2 separate regions of the Homo sapiens genome follow, and region 2 is linked to region 1. Evidence: promoter capture Hi-C in 16 types of primary human blood cells and fetal thymus (Javierre and others, 2016). All regions are on one chromosome and are shown on one strand. The core of a region is centred on a gene start or on the middle of the fragment in contact, and the rest is flanking DNA. Distances in the headings are between cores, read along the strand shown. Region 1 holds the start of PTPRS (protein tyrosine phosphatase receptor type S). Region 2 has its middle 49 kb from the start of ZNRF4.

Region 1 (4,908 bases), core at 1,402-3,901:
GATCCACCCGCCCTGGCCTCTCAAAGTGCTGGGATTACTGGCATGAGCCACCGCGCCCAGCTGCTACAATGTATTTTAATTCTGTTTTTGATGTATTTAATCTGTTTTCTTTGACTGCTCACAAAATCCCTCAGAGGTACTAGTGGTTGTCCCCCTTTTCTAGATGGGGACAGCTAGGCTTACAGTGTTGCGGCCACTTGTTTGAGGTCACCTCCCAAACAGGTCACTGGGCTGGGGTTCGTGCCATGATCAGCCCCTCCACGATCAGCCATCTCATTTTACTGTGTCTCCACCAATTCTCCAAGGCTTCAGCACCCACTGTGCGTGAGAAACCACGCTAAGCATTTGTGCACAGACCACCCCATTTGATCCTTCAAGATGGGATCGTGTTCCCATTGCTTGGATGAGAAAACTGAGGCCAGATTGTAAACGGTCAGATCAGGGTCACCCCACCAGGAAGAAAAACAAAGTAGGCTCTGCAAACGTGGCTGCTGCACTGGCCGCTGGGAAACTCCAAGCTTAAATTAGGTTCCTTGTTAAATTATTCATTATCTCCTCTCTTTTCTCCTGTTTATGACTTCCGCCTTATCGTTTTGTTCCCCGGGTTAATGCTTTTTGTTTATCTGCATCTGTGGCCTGGAATGAATGAATCAACAATTTTGGAGGAAAAAAAAAACCAATTCTAAAGTTGAGTTCCTCTGTTGGGCACCAGGCCTTCTCCAAATATGTGCCTTGAGGAAATAAATGCTTTCGACATGATCAAAACACAAGGACTGATGTGCAATCTTGCTTGGTGGCTGTGAGCCCTCCAACCCCCTTACCTTTGTCAATATCCCCCTTTTATTTACTTCCGCTCTGTTTTTTTTCCTTATTTTTGAGAGTCTCACTCTGTCGCCCAGGCTAGAGTGTGCAGTGGTGTGATATTGGTTCACTGCAACCTCCGCCTCCCGGGTTCAAGAGTTTCTCCTGCCTCAGCCTCCCAACTAGCTGAGACTACAGGCACCTGCCACCACGCTCGGCTAATTTTTGTATTTTTAGTAGAGATGGGGTTTCGCCATGTCGGCCAGCCTGGTCTCGAACTCCTGACAAGTGATCTGCCCACCTTGGCTTCCCAAAGTGCTGGGATTACAGGCATGAGTCACCGGGCCCGGCCTCTTTTCTCTTATTATTCCATCTTCAGGCACCAATGGCAGCCAGGCTGCCACATTATAGCAATTCATCATCACACCCTCCTTAGGAGCAGGGGCTACCTTGCCCCATTTTACAGATGAGAGCTGAGATCCAGAGGCAAATCCATTCTACAGATGGGGAAAGTGAGGCTCCGGGCCTCACACAGCAAATCAGTGTTTTAGCTGGGTTCCAACTGTGGCTCGTCCTGACTCCAGGGAAGCAGGGGATGGTAATTAGGTGAGACCTGTGTAAAGTGCTTACTCTATAAGAAGTGCTCCATCATCCATTCATTCATGTGTTCAACCTACAATAGGGATCTCTGGAGCCACACTGTAGTGTAACTAGAATAAAAACGGGATAATGGGACCAGGCGCGGTGGCTCACGCCTGTAATCCCAGCACTTTGGGAGGCCGAGGTGGACGGATCACTGAGGTCAGGAGTTCAAGACCAGCCTGGCCAACATGGTGAAACACTGTCTCTAACAAAAATACAAAAATTAGCCAGGCGTGGTGACAGCACGCCTGTAATTCCAGCTACTCCGGAGGCTGAGACAGGAGAATAGCTTGAATCCAGGAGGCGGAGGTTACAGTGAGCCGCGATCACGCCACTGCATTCCAGCCTGGGCGACAGAGTGAGACTCCGACTCAAAACCAAACAAACAACAACAACAACAACAAACCGGGATAATGGGATAGAGTGGAGTGGGGCGTGGCTGGTAGCTGTTGTCAGGGAGGGCTTCTCCCAGGCGCTGCTTATTTGAGCAGAAATTGGAAAGATGAGAAGGGGAAGTTCTTGGATGCTCAAGTTAGAGGAACTGTAAGAAGCTGGCTGAGGCGGGAGGATCACCCGAGCCCAACTACTCAGGAGGCTGAGGCGGGAGGATCACCTGAGCCCAGGAGTTTGAAGCTGCAGTGAGCTATGATCATACCACTGTACTGAGGCCCAGGTGGCAGACCCCATCTCTGAAAAAGCAAAGAAGGAGCAGCTGGTTTTTCTGGATCATTGACATGGTGGGGGGGAGGGGACAGGGTAGTGGGCGCTAATGTGAAACGGCGAGCTGCAGAGAGGAGGCGGGATTTTATTCCAAGGGTACTGGGGAGCCGTGGCACAGTTTAGGGCAGCGCACAGAAAGTGCCATGCCCTTTGCACCCAGGACGCTGGGGCTCCCGCACGGACAGTAGCCCCAGGGGCCCTTCCCGCCGCCGCCGCAGCCGCCACCACCACCACCACCCCAGCCGCCCACGTGTCCCGCGAAGCCCCGCGCCCCACGTGCTCCCGCGGCCCTTTAAACACCCCGGAGCCACGTGACCGCGCTGCGCCGTCCCATTGGCCGGGGGGCGTGGCGGCCGCGCGGCTGCGCAGTGACGCGCACGGGCCGGCCCTGCCCCCGACCCGGCGGCGGCGGCGGCGGCGCTGGCGGAAGGGATGACGTCACCGGCTGGGGGGGCGCGCGAGCGGGAGCTAGGGGAGCGCGAGCCGCAGTGAGTGTCCTCGCGCCGCCCGCCCGGCAGCCCGGCCGGCGCGCGCACGCCGCGAGCCGCTGGCGCTCGGGCTCCGCTCGGATCCCATGCAACAGCCACGATGTGAAGCGGGGCAGAGCCGGGGGAGCCCAGCCCAGCCAGCCTCCAGGTAAAGCCAAAAAAAAAAATAAAATCATGGATTAGAGGAAAAAAAAATGCAGGCGCTCCAAGGGGGGTCTCGGAGGCAGCCGAGTGGGCAGCGCGCCGGCTTTGTGCCGGGGAAGCCTGCACGGCCATTGTGCTCGGAGGATGCTCGGCTGCAGCCAGTTGCACGCCCAGCCGCTGCGCCCCGGTAGCTGCGCCCGGACAATGCCCCGAGGGACAGGGCCGGGGCCGCGCTGGGGGCGCTCGGCAGGGGGTGCTGGGGGGGCTTCGTCCGCGGCGTGGGAGGGGGCTGGGCTGGAAGCGCCCAGAGCGCGGCATTGGAAGCTGCCCAGCGCCGCCGGCTGCACCACCCCGGGCTGCGGGCGGGGCAGAGGCGCGGAGGGGGGCGCGCGTGTGTGCGGAGCCGGTGCCGGCCCCGGCGGCGCCCGGCCCGGGTCCCCGGGCGGGTCCTGGAGGCAGGGGGCGCTGTGCCGGGGGATGGGGGGCATGCGGGCGCCCCGGAGCGGAGAGGAGCCGGGACGGGTGGCTCCAGGCGGGGTGGCTCCAGGGCTGCTGCGCCCGCCGCCTTCCCTCTCCGGGTCTCCCTCCCCTGGAGACCCCCTAGTCTACGCCGTCTCCCCTGGAACACTCCGGGCCCTGTCGTTGCCTTATGGGAGGTCGCCCCTCCGGCACTCGGGCATTGCCCCACCCTTCTGCGGCCTCGGCGCCCCCTTCCAGCCTCCCCACCCAGGGGCGAGCCTCAGCCCCCAGCCCCAGGGGCTCTGGCAGGCAGACGCGCACGCCCAGCACCCCAGTCTCCCCTCCGCGCTGGGGGCCCCGTGGGGATCCCGAGAGTGGGGAAGCCGCCCCTGGAACCGCCAGCCCCGCGGGTTCCGCACGCCCCGGGAGCCCCCGGGGGCTGCGGGGGGAGGGGAGGTGACGTCATACCGGGGGCGGGGCCGTCGGCACTGGGTTAAAGGGGGCGCGGGGCGTGCCCTGAGGGGAGCCCCCCAGGTTAGAGTGCCCGCGCCGTGGGTGCGAGGGTTCGGCCAGGTTGCGGCCAAGTTCACCTCTCTTTATGGGAATCTCTCCTAAAATTAAGATCCTCCCCTTCGGACCTCCCCCTACAAATCCTGGACATTTCCCACCAATTCCCCCCCTTCCCAAATTGGGGAACTCCCCTTCGGCCGCTTTCTCTCCAGAATCCTCAAATCAGGGAACCTTTCCCACAAACTGGGAATCTTTTTTTCAGCCACACCCCCCGCCCCAAATCTGGGACCTCCTTCTTCGGTTGACCCTCTTTCCCCAGTCTCAAATCGTCTTCTCGTCTCCCTAAATATGCAGCTTCCAAGAACGCCCCTTCCTCTGCAACCCTTCCTCAAATCCAGCCACCTCCTGGGACCTCATTCCCCCAAATTAACAAACCTCCCAGAGCCTCATTGGGGGTGCCTTGCCTCCCCCTTCTGGGCTCAGCTGGGATTCCCCTGTCCCCCCCCGTCACAATCTAGGGGAGCCCCCTTCTGAGCATGGGGTCCTCCTGCCTCTGGCCGAGACCCTAAAAACACATCCCGGCAGCCGCGGCTAGTGAAGCGGGTGTCCGAGGTGTCGGAGTCCCGGCTGAGCAGCAGGGATGATACCTAGAAGCCGGAGGAGGCAGGAAGAGACCCCTAGGGTCCCAAGGACAGGGACCCACACGCTCCGGGCTCCCGTCCGCCACCACCCGGACTTTGGCTGCTGGGATTCTGGCCTCCTCTGGGTGGCCCCCTATCGCTGCTGTCCTTGGGGTGCAGAGGGTGACGGCGCCTCTTTGTCTGGGGCGCCCTTCTTCCCTCTTTCTGCCGCCTTTCGCCCGGGAGAAGGAAGCCATCCCGCTCCTCTGCTCCTGCGATACCAGCGGCAGCTGCTGGAGCGTTTATTAATGGCCCAGGGACTTGGTCGAATCTGCCATTTGCATAAGTCCCCTCCCCCTCCCAGGGTCCCTTCCTTTGTGCCCCCCTCCCCCTGCCAATCGCGCCTGCCTTCTGTCCCTCTGCTCTTCTTTCTTTGCCAGCTGATATTTTGGCGGTGGAAGGCAGGCAGCTGGGGCTGGGGGCGGCTGCTTCCCGCCCTCAAATCCCACAGCCCCCCAGCTTGG
Region 2 (4,908 bases), core at 1,630-4,129, 160 kb before region 1:
TTAGGGCAGTGGCCTTGACCAGGGATGATTTTGCATGCTCTGGGGGCATCTGGCAATGTCTGCGGACATTTTTGGTTGTCATGACTTGGGGGGTGCTCCTGGCATGGAGTGGGTGAAGGCCAGGGGTGCTGCTCAGCACCCTGCAGTGCCCAGGATGGTCGCAGCCCAGAGAATGATTCAGCCTCAAATGCCCACAGTGGCAAAGATAGGAAACTCTGCCTTAGGGCAATTCATGAAAGGCAGTTTGGAGAACCCTGATCTCTTCCCCCATCTTCGCTTCTGAACCCTGTGTCCTGTTTATTCCAAAGTCCAGGGGGACAAGGCCCTCTGTGACAGTGCAGAGACTCTGGTGCGAGTCCTGGGCCTATTCATCCAGTAGATATTGAGCACTTACTGTATATCAAGCACCATTCTAGGTATTGGGGATCCAGCCACCAATAAGATGGACAAAACACCTGCCCTCATGTGGTTTAACTTCTAGTCAAGGTAGAGAGTTGAGCAGGTAGGTAAACCAAAGGTGGATTCAGAAGTCAGTGAAGGAGGCCGGGTGCAGTGGCTCACACCTGTAATCCCAGCACTTTGGGAGGCCGAGGTGGGTGGATCACTTGAGGTCAGGAGTTTGAGACCAGCGTGGCCAACATGGTGAAACCCCGTCTCTATTAAAAATACAAAACTTAGCTGGGCGTGGTGGCATGCATCTGTAGTCCCAGATGCTTGGGAGGCTGAGGCACGAGAATCACCTGAACCAGGAAGGTGGAGGTTGCAGTGAGCCAAGATTGCGTCACTGCACTCCAGCCTGAGTGACAGAGACTCTGTGTCTCAAAAAAAAAAAAAAAAAAAAAAAGAAGTTAATGAAGGGGATAAAACGGGGATTGGTTGGGGTGGGGCTGTGAGGATAGTGAAGTCTGCTCCAGCTGCCATCACTAAACAAAGATGCTCCTTAACTTACAATGGGGTCATTACCCAATAAACCCATCAAAAGTTGAAAATATCATAAGTCAAAATACGTTTTAGATTTACAATATTTTCAGCTTATAATGGGTTTACCTGGAAGCCACTTCATTGTCTTTTTTTTTTTTTGAGACAGAGTCTTGCTCTTGTCACCCAGGCGGGAGTACAATGGCACGATCTCAACTCACTACAACCTCCACCTCCTGGGTTCAAGCAATTCTCCTGCCTCAGCCTCCGGAGCAGCTGAGATTACAGGTGCGTGCCACCATGCCTGGCTAATTTTTGTATTTTTAGTAGAGACGGGGTTTCACCATGTTGGCCAGGCTGGTCTCGAACTCCTGACCTCATGATCTGCCCGCCTTGGCCTCCCAAAGTGCTGGGATTATAGGCGTGAGCCACCATGCCCAGCCTCCACCTCACTGCTACTTGACTTAGAGTAGCATACTAAATGTATATTGCTTTTGTCACCCTCAAAAAATAAAAAAATTATGTTGAACTACTGTAAATCAGGGACTGTCTGTACCACAGGCTGCGTGGCTTAAACAAAAGATCATTTTCTCACAGTTCTGGAGGCAGGGAAGTCCCAGAGCAAAGCGCCAGCCAATTTAGCTCCTGGTGAGGGCTCTCTTCCTGACTTGCAGATGGCCACCTTCTTGCTGTGTTCTCATATGGCAGAAACAGAGCAAACTCTCTGGTGTCTCTTCTTGTAAGGGCACTAATCCCATCATGAGCCTTCCTTCAATTACCATCCCATAGTTGGGGAGGGGTGTTAGGGTTTTAATTTATGAATTTGGATGGGGGGGACACAAACATTTAGTCCATATCAAGGGAGCTTCTCTGAGGAAGTGGGATTGGAACTGAGGCCGGTGGCTTAAAAGAGTCTTGACAAATGTTACTATGGAGCTTCTGGTCATAAATAATAATGATGGTTATACTAACTTGCATTCAGAATACTCTTTGAGCCAGACCCAAGAGATTGTCTCTTTGATTTTCATTTATCAGATGAGAAAACTGAGATTCTGGGATGAGCAAGCAAAGAGAAAGGAGCTCAATGTCTCACCCTGCAGGACATGAGGAACTGGAACAACTTTGCCTGGAAAGGGCATGCAGAATACCCACCCAGCTCTGCCCCAATTTACTGGGCAAAGTAGGCCAGGTGAGGAGGAAGGGAAGGGTTCTCTGGACAAAGGAGGAGGCTGTGTGGGTAAAGTCCTGAAGGTGGGGAGAGGCTGGTGTGCAGGAGCAAATCTCTGCCTTTCTTTTCCAGCTAATTTGGTGGAATTGAATTCTTAGACCATGTATTATCTCCTCTGGGAATGCTTCTTGGAGGGCTATGGGCAGAGGAGGGACAGGATCTGACTCAGGTGCTCACAGGTGCCCCTGGTGGCTGCTGAGAGGAGGATAGACTGTGGGGGGTGAAGTCGGGAGCTGGGCACCAGGGAAGAGGGGACTGTGTGGTTCCAGGCAAGTGACGATGAGATGTCAGACCAGGGTGAAGGCAGAGGAAGAGAGAGGAGTGGCCAGATTCTGGATAGGTTTTGAAGGCAGACAGGACAGGATTTGAGGGATTAGATATCAGGTAGGTGATAAAAGATGAGTAAAGAATATAGGGCCAGGTCACATATGGAAGCCAAAAGACTGTGGGTCTGCAACGCTGGGCTTCTCAGACTTCCCATTTATAAAATGGGGTCAATACCACCTGCCTCCCAGGTTTACAACCAACAACTGTTATGGGCCCAGCCTTGTTAAGCCCATGACTGTGGGAGTTTCTATGCTGAGGTGTCCCTGACTTCCTAGTGATCATAAGCAATTTCAAGCTTCATCTACTACAAACCAAGGCAGGGATGGTGTTTAGCTGGAAGATAGACGGTGTGTGTGTGTGAGCAGCCTCTTCTGGTGAAAGGTGACATTGCAACCTTGCTCTATTAGACATGGCAAATAACAGACAAGAGGAGGGAAAAGGTGAAATTTGGAAGTTCCTGAGATAAAGAATAACTTATTTGATTTTCTGGACTTTGGAGGGATATGGGGAAGCTTGGAGCTGGGGAAATGCTATGTAATAGGCAGAAGGGAAGAGAAGTTGAAGGCAGAAATTCTAAGATTCACATGGAGGACGCCATGTGAAGATTAAAGTTATGCCACCTCAAGCCAAGGAACTAGCAGAAGCCAGCAGAAAAACACGGAATGGATCCTTCCCTAGAGCCTTTGGAGGGAGCATGGCCCTGCTTACATGTAGGTCTTGAATTTCTGGCCTATAGAACTATGAGGAAATAGGCCAAGCATGGTGGCTCACGCCTGTAATCCCAGCACTTTGGGAAGCCGAGTGGGTGAATCACGAGGTCAGGAGTTCAAGACCAGCCTGGCCAGTATGGTGAAACTCCATCTCTACTAAAAATACAAAAACAAAAAATTAGCTGGGCGTGGTGGTGGGCACCTGTATTCCCAGCTACTCAGGAGGCTGAGTCAGGAGAATCGCTTGAACCCGGGAGGTGGAGGTTGCAGTGAGCCGAGATTGTGCCACTGCACTCCAGCCTGGGCAACAGAGCACGACTTCATCTCAAACAAACAACAAAAACCCCAAAACTATGAGGAAATACATTTCTGTTGTTTGAGCCACTCACTTCGTGGTATTTTGTTTTGGTAGCCCCAGCAAAATCATACACCTGTCTTTTTTTTTTTTTTTTTTTTTGTATTAATTTGAGACAGGGTCTCACTCTGTTGCCCAGGCTGGGGTGTAGTGGTGTGATTATGGCTCACTGCAGCCTCAACCTCCTGGGTTCAGGTGATCCTCCCACCTCAGCTTCCCAAGTATCTAGAACTACAGGTATGCATCATGCCCAGCTATTTTTAAAAATTATTTTTGTAAAGATGGAGTCTCCCTATGTTGCCCAGGATGGTTTCAAACCCCTGGCTTCCAGTGATCCTCCTGTCCCAGCCTCCCAAAGTGCTGGGATTAAAGGTGTAAATCACTGCACCCCACCAATAGCTGCCGTTTGAAGTGAGGTGTGGCTTCATGACTTGCTTTGGCCAATAAAATGTGAGTAGAAGTCATGTTAATCCCCTTCAGTAAAAGCCTTTAAAATCCAGTATCCCATTCTTCATATTCTTTCCCCTCTCTTAGAGACCACTGATGTTTCCTCCATCTGTCTCAATGCCTGAGTGAGGCAGACACAGAGGCCCCCTGCCAACCTGTATTGGGCATATAGTGTGGATGACAAATAAACCTTGGTTGTTTTAGAGCCACTAAGATTTAGGAGCTTGTTCCAGTTACTGTGGTTGTATAAATTACCTGAAAAATTAGTGGCTTAAAATAATAATTTATTACCTCTCATGGTTTTATGGGACAGGAATTTGGGAGCAGCTTAGCTGGGCAATTCTGACTCCGAAGTTCTTACAAGGTTGCAGTCAAGATGTTGACTGGGGCTGTATCATCTGAAGGCTTGACTGGGGCTGGAAGAGCTGCTTCCAAGCTCATCCACATGGCTGTGGGTAGGAGTTCCTTTCTCTCTTTCTCCCTTTCTCTCTTTCTTTCTTTCTCTTTCTTTCTCCTTCCCTTTCTCTCTCCCTTTCTCTCCCTCTCCCTCTTTCTCTCTTTCTTTCTCTTTCTTTCTCCCTTTCTCTCGCTCTCTCCCTCTTTCTCTCTCTCTCTCCCTCTTTCTCTCTTCCTTTCTTACTTTCTTTCTTTCTCTCTCTCTCTCTTTCTTTCTTTCCTCTTTCTCAATATGTTACCGAGGCTGGAGTGCAGTGTCACCATCTTGGCTCACTGCAACCTCCACCTCCCAGGTTCAAGCAATTCTCCTGCCTCAGCCTCTGGAGTACCTGGGATTACAGGTGCTTGCCACCACAGCTGGCTAATTTTTGTATTTTTAGTAGAGACAGGGTTTCACCATGTTGGCCAGGCTGGTCTTGAACTTCTGGCCTCAAGTGATCCATCTGCCTTGGCCTCCTAAAGTGCTA

Evidence for each region. Contacts are between HindIII fragments. The CHiCAGO score rates a contact against its expected background, and 5 or more counts as called.
Region 2: a contact is called between a fragment that was not itself captured here and the fragment with the promoter of PTPRS in region 1, in 3 of 17 cell types (M1 macrophages, M0 macrophages and total CD8 T cells). The highest score is 8.8, in M1 macrophages.

What each region holds. Positions count from the first base shown.
Region 1 is chr19:5,338,555-5,343,462 of GRCh38, reverse strand. It overlaps PTPRS (protein tyrosine phosphatase receptor type S), which reads left to right and starts at 2,651. Exons shown (of 38, transcript NM_002850.4): 1 at 2,651-2,799. RefSeq lists a silencer at 2,444-2,723 and an enhancer at 4,590-4,908. The HindIII fragment of the contact is 5,182 bases long and covers 521-4,908 here.
Region 2 is chr19:5,501,742-5,506,649 of GRCh38, reverse strand. No RefSeq gene overlaps it. Among named protein-coding and RNA genes, the nearest start is that of ZNRF4, 49 kb to the right of the region's middle. The HindIII fragment of the contact is 217 bases long and covers 2,771-2,987 here.